Regions from separate parts of the Homo sapiens genome. Here region 1 is linked to region 2. The links are contacts of gene promoters, found by promoter capture Hi-C in blood cells and fetal thymus (Javierre and others, 2016). All regions are on one chromosome and are shown on one strand. Each heading gives the region's core, a stretch centred on a gene start or on the middle of the fragment in contact. The rest is flanking DNA. Distances are from core to core; before and after follow the strand shown.

The links. The method cuts DNA at HindIII sites, captures the fragments that hold promoters and counts their contacts. A CHiCAGO score of 5 or more calls a contact.
Region 1: a fragment that was not itself captured here is called in contact with the fragment with the promoter of ZNF213 in region 2 in 2 of 17 cell types (naive CD8 T cells and total CD8 T cells); the score reaches 5.7 in naive CD8 T cells.

What each region holds. Positions count from the first base shown.
Region 1 is chr16:3,401,660-3,408,191 of GRCh38, reverse strand. It overlaps ZNF174 (zinc finger protein 174), which reads right to left. Exons shown (of 3, transcript NM_003450.3): 1 at 5,786-6,532; 2 at 3,544-3,766. The coding sequence starts at 6,187. Among named protein-coding and RNA genes, the nearest start is that of ZNF174, 3.7 kb to the right of the region's middle. The HindIII fragment of the contact is 171 bases long and covers 3,818-3,988 here.
Region 2 is chr16:3,133,653-3,141,020 of GRCh38, reverse strand. It overlaps ZNF213 (zinc finger protein 213), which reads right to left and starts at 5,992. Exons shown (of 6, transcript NM_004220.3): 1 at 5,634-5,992; 2 at 3,342-3,855; 3 at 2,480-2,603; 4 at 2,203-2,276; 5 at 1,923-2,046; 6 at 1-332. The coding sequence starts at 3,740. It overlaps ZNF213-AS1 (ZNF213 antisense RNA 1), which reads left to right and starts at 6,139. Exons shown (of 6, transcript NR_110900.1): 1 at 6,139-6,391. RefSeq lists enhancers at 2,057-2,557, 6,042-6,231, 6,242-6,411 and a silencer at 5,702-5,931. The HindIII fragment of the contact is 14,017 bases long and covers 1-7,368 here.

The DNA.
Region 1 (6,532 bases), core at 2,654-5,153, 270 kb before region 2:
AGCACTTGTTAAACAAGCAGGCTCTTCACCCTTCCCCCAGAGCTGCTGGGTCAGAATCTCGGGGGGTTGGGCCTGATAATCTGCACAGTTAGCAGGCTCCTGGGGTGACTGTGATTTATATTAAATTTAGGAACCAAGTTCTCCATCCTCCTTCTTCCTTTCTCCCTTTAGGGAAAGGTTTAGGAAATGAAGAACAGGGAAAAGCAAACCCATCAGAATTGGGTATCTAATGAAGAAGGAAGAGAGGTGAAATCTCAACATTGCAAATTTTACTGCTGTAGTCCAATGCCTGAGCTATTTCAACAAATACCCCTCACTTAGTAAACACTAATTGACAACCACCTTCTCTTCAAAAGATGGTAAGTTCAGAGACTGTGATGTTTTCTTTCATTACAAATTTGACAGTATATGAGTTCAGAAACTGGAATCAGGGCTTAGCCATGTATCCTAATTACAGAAGGATTGACAGTCTGGATGGAGATGAGCTGGAACGGCCTATGGGAAATCACAGGATCTGGAGAAGGATCCCTTGTGATGTGGAAAATGTGTGTGTGCACACGTGCATGCACAGGCACATGCACGTTGTTCAATATGGCAGCCACTAGCCACATGTGACTATGTGGCTACTGGGTACTTGAAATGTGACTACTGTGACTAAGGAACTTAATTTTAAATTTTTTTTTAATTTTAATTCATTTAAATTCAAATGTAAATAATCAGCCTATACAATCAGGGTCAATTGCTTTTTGACAAGACAATTCAATGGGAAAAGAATAGTCTTTTTCATAAAGGATTCTAGGACTACTGGATTTCCACATACAAGAGAATGAAGTTGGACCCTGCTATGGTCTGAATGTTTATCCCCCCTGTCCCCTGACACACATATATTGACAGTCCCCAGTGCAGTGGTCTTGGGAGGTGGGGCATCTGGGAGGTGATTAGGTTATGAGGGTGGGGTCCTCATAAATGGGATTAGTGTCCTTATAAAAGAAACCCAAGAGACTACCATGTGGGGACTCATAGCAGGCACCATTTATGAGGAATGGGCCCTCGCCAGACACCAAATCTGCTGGCACCTTGATCTTGAACTTCCCAGTATCCAGGAACTATGAGCAACAAATTTCTGTTGTTTATAAATTACCTAGTCTAAGGCAATTTGTTGTAAGAGCCTGATCAGATTAAGACAGACCCCTGATCAGATTGACAGACCCCTACCTCAAAACCTATATAAAAATTGACTTGTTTATGTATGGGGAAAAAATAAACTTAAAATGGACCAAATAGCTGAAAGTAAGAGCTAAATCTATGTCTCCTTGAAGAAACCATAGCTGTACATATTTGTGCCCTTGGATTAGGCAGTGCTATTTTACATATGACACCAAAGCATAAAGAAAGAAAAAAATAGATAAATTAGACTGCAGCAAAATGAAAAACGTGTGCGTCAAAGGACACTGTCAAGAAAGTGAGACAACCCACAAAATGAGAGAAAAGATTTGCAAATTACACATAAGGGTCTAGTATCTAGAATACATAAAGGACTCTTATAAAAAATAAAGACAAATAACCTAATTTAAAAATGACCAAAGGATCTGAACAGATATTTTTCCACACAAGATATGTAACTGGATAATAAGCACATGAAAAGATGTTCAACACCATTAGTCACTAGGGAAATGTAAATCAAAACCTCAAATCAAAATTTCTCACCGAATAGGATGGGTATAAGACAATAACAAGTGCTAGCAAGAATGTGGAGAAATCGGAATCCTCACACAGTATTGGTGGGGATGTAAAATGGTGTAGCTGCTTTGGAAAACAGTCTGGTAGTTCCTCATAAGTTAAACATGGAATTACCACATGACCTAGCATATGGTAATTCCACTCCTAGGTATATACTCAAGAGAAATGAAAACATGTCTACACAAAAACACACATTTATAGCAGCATTCTTCATAATAACCAAAAAGTAGAAACAACCCAAAAATCTATGAACAGATGAACCAACATGAACAGAAAACCAACATGTAATATATCCGTACAATGCCTATTATTCAGCCACAGAAAAGGAATGAAGCACTGATTGATGCTACAGCATGGATAAAACTTGAAAACATGCTCAGTGAAAGAAGCCACACACAAAAGACCACATATTGTGTGATTCAATTTATTTATTTATTTATTTTTGAGACAGGGTCTTACTTTGTCACATAGGCTAGAGTGCAGTGGCACGATCTCAGTTCACTGCAGCCTCGACCTCCCAGGTTGAAGTGATCCTCCTGCCTCAGCTCCCCCAAGCAGCTGGGATTACAGGTGTGCAGCACCATGCCCCGCTAATTTTTGCATTTTTTGTAGAGACAGGATTTCGCCATGTTGCCCAGGCTGGTCTCGAACTCCTGAGCCTAAGTGATCCGCCTGCCTTGGCCTCCCAAAGTGCTGGGATTACAGGCGTGAGCCACTGTGCCCGGCCTGTGTGATTCCATTTGTATAAAATGTTCAGAATAAGCAATTCTAGAGACAAAAAGTAGACTGTGGTTGCCAGGGGCTAAATGTTTATGTTCCTCCAAATTCATATGAAATTCTAACTCCCAAGGTAATAGTGTTAGGACATGGGGCCTTTGGGAGGTGATTAGGTCATGAGGGTGCTGCCCTCACTGGAATGGGATTAGTGCCTTCATGAAAGAGCCCCACGGGAGCCTGTCTTCCCCTTCTGCCACATGAGGACTGAGAAGTAGGCAGTCTGTGACCTGGAAGAGGGGCCTCACTGGAACCCAACCATGCTGGCACCTTGAACTCAGACTTCCTAGCCTCTAGAACTGTGAGAAATAAACTCCTGTTGTTTATAAACTACCTAGTCTCTAGCATTTTATATTAGCAGCCTGAACAGACTAAAACACGAAGTACCTCATTGGATGTAGCAAATATTAAGAAACTGAGGATTTTTGTCGTCTTGTAACCCTCCTCCCTAACGTGCTCACTGTATCTTGTATTCACATCACCAGGCTTGGCCAAAATGTCACTGTCATTCAGGCTTAGAGATCACAGGACTGTGTAGAACAAGGCCAGCAGTTACACAAGTATCACACCAGAGAAAGGGAAATAGATTTGAGGATCTAAAGTACAAGCAACATCACAGAGGAGGACAAAGATATAAGATATAGGGTGGGTTTTTATTTCTACCAGGCCCCTCTAAACAGAGGAGCATTTTAAGCAATGAAACTCAGCCATAGCTTGCATGGAAGTTCATCTGTGGCCATATTTGGATCTGTCTTTTCTATAAGAAGTTCTGAAACGGACAGAAAAGTAGGTACAACCCTGTCATGCACTGGATTCTTAAATTTTCATTAACAGAAAACGATAAAAACATACTTACTTGTAGTATCACCACCATCCTAATTAGTGAAATTTGTTTAGTGAATAATCATCTACTATTATATATAACATTTAAAAAAACACACACATGTGGTCTATGCCTTTGCAGAACCATGAGATACATTGATGGAGATAAAGGGCTGATGAGAGGGAGAGAAAAGGCAGAGTGTTTACCTGTCCCAGCCAATTTGGGGGTTGGTTCTTGGAGGAGTGGGGATTTCTCCCAATGATGGGGGCTCAGCCGGTCATAAGCTCCTGCCTGGGAAGGCTCTGCTGGAGAGCTCTCCCTGAGATCTCTCCTAGGAGTCTGCGGTTGAAAGTCTGGCAGTTCCTGTTCTCCAAGCTGAGATCCAGTTTTCTCCAAGAGCACCTTTTGCCCCTGCATACAAACGGCCACCTAGGAACAAGCCCCATCCATTAATTCCATCCATCAGGACTGAGGGAAGCTTGATCTCTCACTGTTGTATAATGACCCGTTTACCTTGGGAATTGCTGATAACCATCTAGAGGTCAACTTTCATAGAAACCACTGAAACCCTCAAAGGAAGTAAAGGGGAGAACGTGAAGAATGACAGGAATGAGGATGCTACAAATCAGCCGAGTGGCTTCCCCTAAAGCTTGGGCCTTTCTCAAGGGCCAGAGTCAAAGTCATCAGGGTAGTTGCTGGCACAAATATCAGGGTCAGTCACAACACTGGGCCATCAGATGCCTACTCTACACACCACCCCCCACCTACTTCTGCTGGAAATAGGCCCTGTAGGAACAGGAAGCAGTATGGTGAGGGGCTGTTAAAAGTCCTTCTTACCTAATACATTGTTCTGCCAAAGGCTTTCCTGGTAAGGAGATCCCAGTAGTAGTAGGGGTCTAAGAGGACCACCCCACCTTCATTCCCTAACAAGTTCTATTTTCCGAAGTACCTGCCGTTTGCTTCTTGCCTAGGTCCTGACTGGGGTCTGACTTCGGGGCGGGGAGTGGCAAGCAATGGCAACGCTGGCCAGTTGAACTGTAACTTCCTGATCCAAAGACAATAAGCTAGTCAGGCATTGTGTGGCTCACTCCTGTAATCCCAGCACTTTGGGAGGTCAAGACGGGCGGATCGCCTGGGCCCAAGAAGAGTTCAAGACCAGCCTGGGCAATGTGGAGAAACCCTGTCTCTACAAAAGTACAAAAATTAGCCACGCATGGTGGCATGTACCTGCAGTCCCAGCTACTTGAGAGGCTGAGGTGTGAGGAACACTTGAGCTGGACATGGAGGTTGCAGCGAGCTGAGATCGTGCCACTGCCCTCCAGCCTCAGCAACACAGTGAGACCCAGTCTCAAAAAAAAAAAAAAAAATCAAAGACAAAAAGCTAGGCCAGGTGTGGTGGCTCACGCCTGTAATCCCAGCACTTTGAGAGGCCAAGGCGGGAGGATCACTTGAGGTCAGGAGTTCGAGACTAGCCTGGCCAACATAGTGAAACCCCCTCTCTACTAAAAAGTACAAAAATTAGCTGGGCGTGGTGGCAGGCACCTGTAAACCCAGCTACTCAGGAGGCTGAGACCTGAGAATCGCTTGAACCTGGGGTGCAGAGGTTGCAGTGGGCTGAAATGGCACCACTGCACTCCAGCTTGGGAAACACAGCAAGACTCCATCTCAAAAAAAAAAAAAAAAAAAAAAAAAAAAAAAAAAAAAGACTATAAGCTAAACACTGGAAAGACAATAAGCTAGAACTTCCAATGAAATGAAGTTCCCCAAAGTCCAACTGCTACCCAACAGGGTGACCCTATCTGCTAAGAATTCTGCTAGTAGGAAAACTAAGTTGGGTGGGGGAAGAGCTGACAGAAGGGATTTAAGAACCTTACAATTACTTCTGGTGACACAAGGTGCATAAAGGAATGGTAAGAACCTTGGTCCTCTGTTGCCTCACTGGGTATCAGTAGTTGGATTTTCTAAAAACCTGTTAATAACTCAGGATAGGTTCCCAGATAGAGGCTGGAAGCAACTTCTGAAGCCATCCAGTCCACTTCTGAGACTTAAATAGGGAGAGATCCAGATACCAAACATTACCCAGATGAAAAAGAAATCGGCCGGGCACGGTGGCTCACACCTGTAGTCCCAGCACTTTGGGAGGCCGAGGCGGGCGGATCACGAGGTCAGGAGATCGAGACCATCCTGGCTAACACGGTGAAACCCTGTCTCTACTAAAAATACAAAAAATTAGCCGGGCGCGGTGGCGGGCGCCTGTAGTCCCAGCTACTCGGGAGGCTGAGGCAGGAGAATGGCGTGAACCCGGGAGGCGGAGCTTGCAGTGAGCCGAGATAGCGCCACTGCACTCGGGCCTGGGCGAAAGAGCAAGATTCCGTCTCAAAAAAAGAAAAAAAAAAAAAAAGAAAAGAAAAAGAAATCCCCAGGATGATGGGAGAGGACCCTCCTTACCCACTGCTTTGGTTTCTTGGATGCTCTGTGAAAATCTTCCACGAGGGTCACAATCTCCTTGCTGCTCATTGGACATCGATGCCTGACCCGAGCCTGGATCTCCGGGGGCAGGATGGTCAGGAACTGCTCCATCACCAGAAGCTCCAAAATCTGCTCCTTGGTGTGCAGCTCGGGTTGCAACCACTGACGGCAGAGCTGTCGGAGCTGGGAGAGAGCCTCTTGGGGTCCAGACACCTCTTGATAACAAAAGCGTCTGAAGCTCTGGCGGCAGAGCTCAGGATCTGGGCAGTTTTTTTGCAGAGGAGGGCCCCGTTTCTCTTCTAGTTTGGCTATTATGTGTCTCTCTTGCTTGGAGGAAGCTTCAGTGTTGGAGCTTAAAGTTATCTCCATTTTAGCTGCCATTTTGGGCGTCAGGAGACAACTCTCTCCTTGTAAACGGGTTAAGCCTTTGGGATCATGACCCTGGAGAAGTCTCTGAATACTAGAAAGATTCTAGAAACGAAGGTTCTCTGAGGATGTTAGGGGGAACGGGATGCAGAGACAAAGCCTCACTTGCTAGCCTTTACTAGCCAAACTCAAGACAACGCGGTCCCTGGGAGTGGGAAGAGTTTTGTCTTCTTGTCAGTTTTTTGCAGTCTTGCAAAGGAGAAAAGTCATAACGTCCTAAAAGGACTCTGGGGAAAAAATACTTCTTTTATTTCAGTAGCAAGCACACAGGTCTCGGATTTAATGAGCAATACGCTCTAA
Region 2 (7,368 bases), core at 4,743-7,242:
GTCGCACTCAGGGCACTTGTGTGGCTTCTCGCCCGTGTGCGTGCGCTGGTGCCGCGCCAGGTCCGAGCCCCAGCGGAAGCGCTTTCCACACTGCCCGCAGCTGTGCGGCTTCTCGGCTGCCAGGTCCCGGAACTGGCGCCGGCGAGTGGGTGGCCGCCCCCGTCGCGCGCCCACCACTGGGCCCAGGGCCGCCCTCGGCCGGTTCTCGCTCTCCCAGGCCTCAGCCTCCTCGGGGCTCCAGGACACAGTCACGTCGCTGCCTGTCTGGCCTGGCACCACCGGCACCATCTCCTGCAGCAGGGACTTCTCACTTTGGCCTTTGAGCCCAAAACCTGCAAGGGGAAGGAGGCGACCTCTTCAGTCCCACGCGGTTCTGGGGCCAGAGCTGAGGTGAGGAAGAAACAAGGCTGGGGAAAGCTCCCTGGCCTCCAGGTTCAGAAAGCCCTGGGTTCACACAGCTGAATTCTCAGGTTCCTCATCTATAAAACAGGGATGATTGGCCAGGCGCAGTGACTCAAGCCTGTAATCCCAACATTTTGGGAGGCTGAGGCGAGCTGATCACCTGAGGTTAGGAGTTCGAGACCAGCCTGGCCAACATGGTGAAACCCCGTCTCTATTAAAAAATGCAAAAATCAGCAGGGCATGGTGGCGCACATCTGTAATCCCAGCTACTCAGGAGGCTGAGGTAGAAGAATCACTTGAACCCATGAAGCGGAGGTTGCAGTAAGCCGGGATCATGCCATTGCACTCCAAGAGCGAGACTTTGTCTCAAAAACAAACAAAAACCCAAATAAATCAGGGATGATGAAAAAATTCGGCAGAGCAGCAGTCTGAATAAGCCTCTGATCCCGCCTGCATGGGCCAGCCCCCTAAGCCATCTGTGCCCTGCAGGCCACACTGGGATCCAATGTCCCACTCTGAACCCCAGATATCAAGCTCCACAGCAGAACAGATTTATAGTAATTCTGAAACTTTTCAAGGGCCGGGCGCGGTGGCTCACGCCTGTAATCCCAGCACTTTGGGAGGCTGAGGCAGGCGGATCATGAAGTCAGGAGTTCGAGACCAGCCTGACCAACATGGTGAAAACTCGTCTCTATTAAAAATACAAAAAAATTAGCCGGGCATGGTGGCTCATGCCTGTAATCCCAGCTACTCAGGCTGAGGCAGGAGAATTGCTTGAACCCGGGAGGTGGAAGTTTCAGTGAGCTGAGATCACACCACTGCATTCCGGCCTGGCGACAGAGCAAGACTCCATCTCAAAAAAAAAAAAAAGAAAGAAAATTTTTCCCAACCGTCACAGTCGGAAACTGAGGAGCCAAACTGGTCTAGCTAGTGTGGCTCCCTTCACCACGCAGGCTCTAGTTCTCCAAACTCAACACAGATCTGGACAGAGGTCGCAGCCCATCCTCCTGGGAGTGTGACTGAACAAGATGATCCCTGATGGTGCTGAGAAGGGGCCTGGCATGGAGAGGAACCTGGTAAGTGCAGTTCTGACGAGCAGGGGCCCAGGCTGGTGAGCAGCTGGGGTTCCCCGTCAGCACCCCTGCTCCTAGCAGCCCAAGGTGGCCTCACAACTGTGCCTGATCCAAGTCCCAGCTGTGTCCCTTCAGCATCCACTGACCTGAGTCTCAGGTCCCTTATGCGTAAAATGGGGACAATACTTCCATGCACTAGGTTGTGAGACTCAAAGGAGAAGTTGCCCTTAGAGCAACTGCAGGGCTGGGCAGCGCCGGCGCCGTCCCATGCTGCATGTGGAAACGCACAAAAACTGATCATCAGCCAAGAAAGGAGTTACTCAGGCTCCTGGCAAGACCTAGGGAGAGCCTGCTTTGGAACCAGCTAAGGATGGGGTGGGAAACAAGACTGAAGTTCCAGCAGAATCGGGGGCGGCCAGCCTGGACCCAAAGGCCCTGGGTGCTTACCCAGGGTGGTGTTCCGGGAGTTCTCCCGCTTTATGTCCCAGAAGAGATCCCGCTGAGCAGGGTCCAGGGTGCCCCATTCTTCCCGGGAGAAATAGAATGGGATGTCTCCCAATGCCACAGGTCCCTGGAATGGGGTGAGAAGACCCGGCTCAGGCCTCCCAGCAGCACTGGCGGGGACAGGATGGGTCAGATGAAAGAGGCCTGATGGGACAGCAAGTCCCATTTTACAAACTCAACAGGGCCAAGTGCCTTAAAGAAGACAAAGGGACTGGTGACTCACATGGACCCCAGAGACAAAGCAGGTGTCCGTCGTCTCTCCGGGACGACCCTCTTTAAGAAGAGCAGGAGGCTGGGCTGAAGGAGAAGAATGGAGCCTTAGAAAGGCCAGCCCAGGCTTGACACCGACGCCTATGGCCTCCCCAGCCTGTGCGCATGCACACACGCCCTGGACTTCACAGAGGGAGCTGTCCTGCCTGTGACCCTTAGGGCAACGCCGGTGACAAAGCTAGGTCCCTGCCCAGCCACTCGACTGTCCACAAGAACGGAGGCTTACTCACCGCTATGGCTGTGCTGCTCCTGGGGAACAGACGGCCGCCTCCGTGCCCCCACCGTCGGGGGAGGCCCCGTGGCCTGGGATCCCCGGCCTGCAGCCTCGGGTTCCGCCTCCTCCGAGGGCACATCCTGTGCAGGAACCACAACATGCTCATCAGCCCGAGACCAGACCGGGGGAGACAGAGTTTACTCCCTGGGAAGGAGACACAGGACATGACCCTCAGGATGCTGGGGTGTGGGAAGGAGACCAATATGGTGCCCCAGGAAAAGTCCGGAGGAGAATGTGATACCAGGTAATGCTGTGTGCCCAAGGATGCTCCCCGATCATTCACGAGGCAAGAACCAGCCCTGAAAGGCCAGAATCACAGCCACTTAGCAAGGGGGTAGCTGGGGACCCTCCTGCCAAAGGCAGAACCCCATCCCCCAGCCACTCATTAGAACCTCCCCAGATGCATCCAATGTGAAGGACCCAACATCCCACAAGGTAGCAGAGGCCCCGGACAGCTCCACCTTCTCGCCCCACTCTGGAGCTGGCTCTATGCACACCCTTGTGTCCCCAGAGCCAGGCCTAGAGCAAAATGCAAATAAACATCAGCAGACCCTGCATGGAGCTAAAACCTCCTGTCTGGAACATTCGCACTTCAGCCCTATTGCTGCCTTCCAAAGCCACAAAAAATAAATCACATTTACTTTGGATCGCATCTTTCAGAAAGGCACCCATGGCACACTGTGCTTGTGTGCCTGCTCCTGGGGGCTCTGTGTCTCCCCTACCCTGTGAGCCTCTGGGAGACTTATCTCTGCAGGTTACCCACTTCTCTCGAGCTCAGATACCATCCAGGTGCCCCTGGATGTGGAAGGGCCCCTCACCTGTCGCCAGGCTTTCACTGGCTGCTTCTGTAGGTCCTCCACCAAGGCGACAGCCTCCTCACCGCTTCCCGGGTGCTGCTCACGCACCCAGCCCTGGATCTCCCCTGGCAGCACTGTCAGGAACTGCTCCAGCACCAGCAGCTCCAGGATCTGCTCCTTGGTACGCAGCTCGGGCCGCAGCCAGCGGCAGCAGAGCTCCCAGAGCTGGCTGAAGGCCTCATGAGGCCCATGCACATCCCCGTAGCAGAATTGCCGGAAGCGCTGGCGGCAGGCTTCGGAATCCCTGCCATCCTCATGCTGGGCAGATTCCTGTTCCCAGGAGGAATCTTCCACTTTCACAATCAGAAGCCCTTCTCCCTCCCCAGGGGCCTGGTCCTGGGCCTCCAAGGGGGCTGCCATTCCCCTGGCCTGAGGCTCAGGGTTGGTCGGCTTCAACCTGGGCCCCAGAACCTGTACTTTCAGTCTCCCAGAGGGATCCCCTGTGGTAGCTGGGCTGGCATCTGGATGTGTACTCCTGGGGAAAGAGCAAAATGGCAGGACTGAGGAGGAAGGATGTGGAATACACGAGCAAACCCCAGGCTGAAGAGCCATCCAGTCCCCATCCTTTCATGGCCCTGAAGCCTTTTCTAGGCTTTACTGTAATGCCTTGCTCATGTGACTGTCTCTCCTATTAACACAGGCCCACAAGCTCTCATCCCAAAGCCAGAAATCCAAAACCCGGGTGTTTCATAACTCTTTGACAGCAAAACCCAATGTCATTCATTTGGCAGCACCACCTGACCTGATATAAGCATATTTATAATCTCAATTTATTCCACTAAATGTAAATGTTCAAAATTATGGTGGAAATATTAATAACATATATCTTCAGTTTATAAAATTTCATTGAGCTATACCCACTCGTGTGTTTTTCTGTATTGCACATTATACATCAATTAAATATCTTTTTTTTTTTTTTTTACTGAGAGAGAGTCTCACTCTGTCGCCCAGGCTGGAGTGCAGTGGCGCAATCTCAGTTCACTGCAACCTCTGCCTGCCAGGTTCAAGCGATTCTCCTGCTTCAGCCTCCCAAGTAGCTGGGACTACAGGCACCAGCTACCACGTCCAGCTAATTTTTTGTATTTTTAGTAGAGACGAGGTTTCACCATGTTGGCCAGGATGGTCTCAAACTCCTGACCTTGTGATCCACCCGCCTCGGCCTCCTAAAGTGCTGGGATTACAGGCGTGAGCCACTGCGCCCGGCCTAATTAAAAAATTTTAACTGATATGTTTCATTATTTAGTGTTGCCCCAGATCCCTCTGGAGATGTGCTTGATATATCGTCTGTGCACTATATTATCTTTCTCAAATTTGAAAACCTCTGAATTCCAAAACACATCTGGCCCTGAGGTGTCACAGAAGGGCTTACAGACACCATCCAAAGCCATTTATCCACAGGTACATATAAATGTATGACACATTTATACCTTACATTGTTACTCTCTACTGAAAAGTGTATTATGCAATTTTCAGTAATCGATTTTTTGTTTCAACAATAAAAATACAAACTGGCCGGGCTTGGTGGCTTATGCCTGTAATCCCAGCATTTTGGGAGACAGACACAGGATGATTGCTTGAGGCCAGGGGTTCAAGACCCCTTTGGGAAGACAATGTGAGACGCCATCTGTACCAAAAAACAAAAAAAGCCAGGTGGGGCTCCTGTAGTCCCAGCTACTGGGGAGGCTGAGGAGGAAAGATTGCTTGAGTCCAGGAGTTTGAGGTTGCAATGAGCTATGATCGCACCACTGTACTCCAGCCTGGGCAACAGAGTGAGACCATCTCAAAAAAAAAAAAAAAAGAAAGAAAAGAAAAGTAAAAAGAAAATGAAAAAAATACAAACCATCTTAATAAAAAAGGGAAGATTCAAACAATATAGAAATCTGTAAAACTCTCCCTTCCTCAATACCATTGTACCCCCCGACTTAACAGTCTGACAAATGACGTCCCAGACCTTTTCCTGTGCTTTTACTAAAAAAGTCATCCATAGCGGGGAGAAAAGGTGCTTGATGTGTTTCTACATAAATGAGACCTTACTGCACAGACATTAGCGGCACTATGAGCTTCCGCGGTATGGATATGCTCTAGTTTCTTAATCAATACTCGAGTGATGCATTCGGGTTGTTTCCAATTCTTTAGTCCATCCTAAGCACTTTATTTATTCTGCTCCTCACAAGACCCCTGAAAGGTGCGCGCACCATTCTCATCCTCTGGTGACTTCGAAGAAGACTTTCCTCGAAGAGGGCCAGGACTCACCAGGGTCGCTCAGCAGGACACGGCAGGCGGGAAGGCGAGCCAGCCGGAGCCCCGCGCTGTCCACCGCAGCCTCGCCCGCGGGGCGAGCGGCGATCGTACAGGGGCGTCTGCCGGGGGACCAAGCTGGCAGAGCGGCGCGGGGGACCAGCACTTCCTAGCAGTGCGCGCGCCCTCCGGCCTCTGCCTCGGGGCGCTGATCCCGGCCACTCGGAGCCCGGTGCTTGATGTTGGAGCCAGGCGGCCAGAGGCCCCGTCCCCGCCCCGGCCCCCGCCCCCGCCCCCGCCCCCGAAACACACAACGCCCACTACGGCCCAGGAGATCCCACTTCCGCCGCGAGCTCCCGGCGCCGGAAGTCCTCGCGGGGCTCGCTGGGAAACTACGCTACGCAAGCATTCCCCAGCTCCCAGAAAGCCGTTCGTCCACTGAGCCCGCCTTCTCCATGACCGATGGCCAATGAACAGGAAGAATTCTCAGGCTGCCTATTAGAAGACAGAAACTCCATACGCGTCATACACCTGCACCCGGGAGGAAAGGCGAGGCTCTGCATCTAGATTTACCTCGTTCTCTTTTGTCTCCGCTTTTTTTTCACATTTCCTTGCGACCCTGGCCCTTGAGCGACAAAAAGGGGAAGCCAAGGCTGGCCCGAGGAACGGAGAGGGCACATGGCCTAGCCACAAGTGGAGCTTCTGCTCCGCCCGAAGGGATGCGCTGGAGCGGCCTCTTCCTTCTGCCACGGTCTTTCTTTGCCAACTAGTAGGTGAGGGCCGAAAGGCCGCGGGCCGTGGAGCTCGGGCCGGGGAGACTCTTTTCTAGCCTCTTGGGTCCCGCTCCTCCCAATTCCCTGGAGAGGCGTCGAGCTTGCTGGGAAGTGCCCTCGGGTAAGGGGCGCGGAGCCTCCTGCGGCGATCCTCTGTCTTCGGGTCGCCTTAGCAGGACGCGGCAAGCGGGACACTGACCTGGCCGGAGTCCCGCGTTCTCTCACCAGCTGCTTTGTCCACGAGTTGCTGCTGGGCGTCAGGGGTCCCACGGCCCGGAGGGATCTAGAGCAGGGGGGCTCGGGGTCCTTTCCATACCCTCGGATCCTCTCCCACTCTCTCCACGCCTCGACCCGGAGATGATTTCAGGCTCCAGATCTCTTTCATAAATGGAAAGAGTTTTTTTGGTTTGTTTTGTCTTAATTATGTAGGTGTTGCATGCTTGGAAGAGAAAATTTAGAAAATTAATTGGAAAACCATAAAGATAGCTTTCTCGTGATAGCCACAAGGCTTGCTCCCTCATTCTGCTCATATGTCACCCCCTCAAGGAGGCCTTCCCCAGCTCTGTAAACAACCTGTGCTCGGCGTTAACTTTTCTCCCTAATGTTTATCACTACCTGACATATACGTGTTTCCCACGACTCAACGATAAGTGTTCATGAGGGCAGACACTTTTTAATGCCCTATGACAAGCACCTAGAATTGTGCCTGGCACATGGTAGATGCTTAGTAAATATTTGTTTAATGAATGAAGGTAAAAAACATTTCTAATACGACCATCCAGGAATAAGTACTATTCATGTTTTAGTGTGTTCTTACAGTTTTACTGTTCAGACAGTTATATGCCTGTGAATATATATTATATATGTGTGTATATATATATATATATATATATATATATTTTTTTTTTTTTTTTGAGACAGAGTCTCGCTCTGTCACCCAGGCTGGACTGCAGTGGCGCGATCTTGGCTCACTGCAA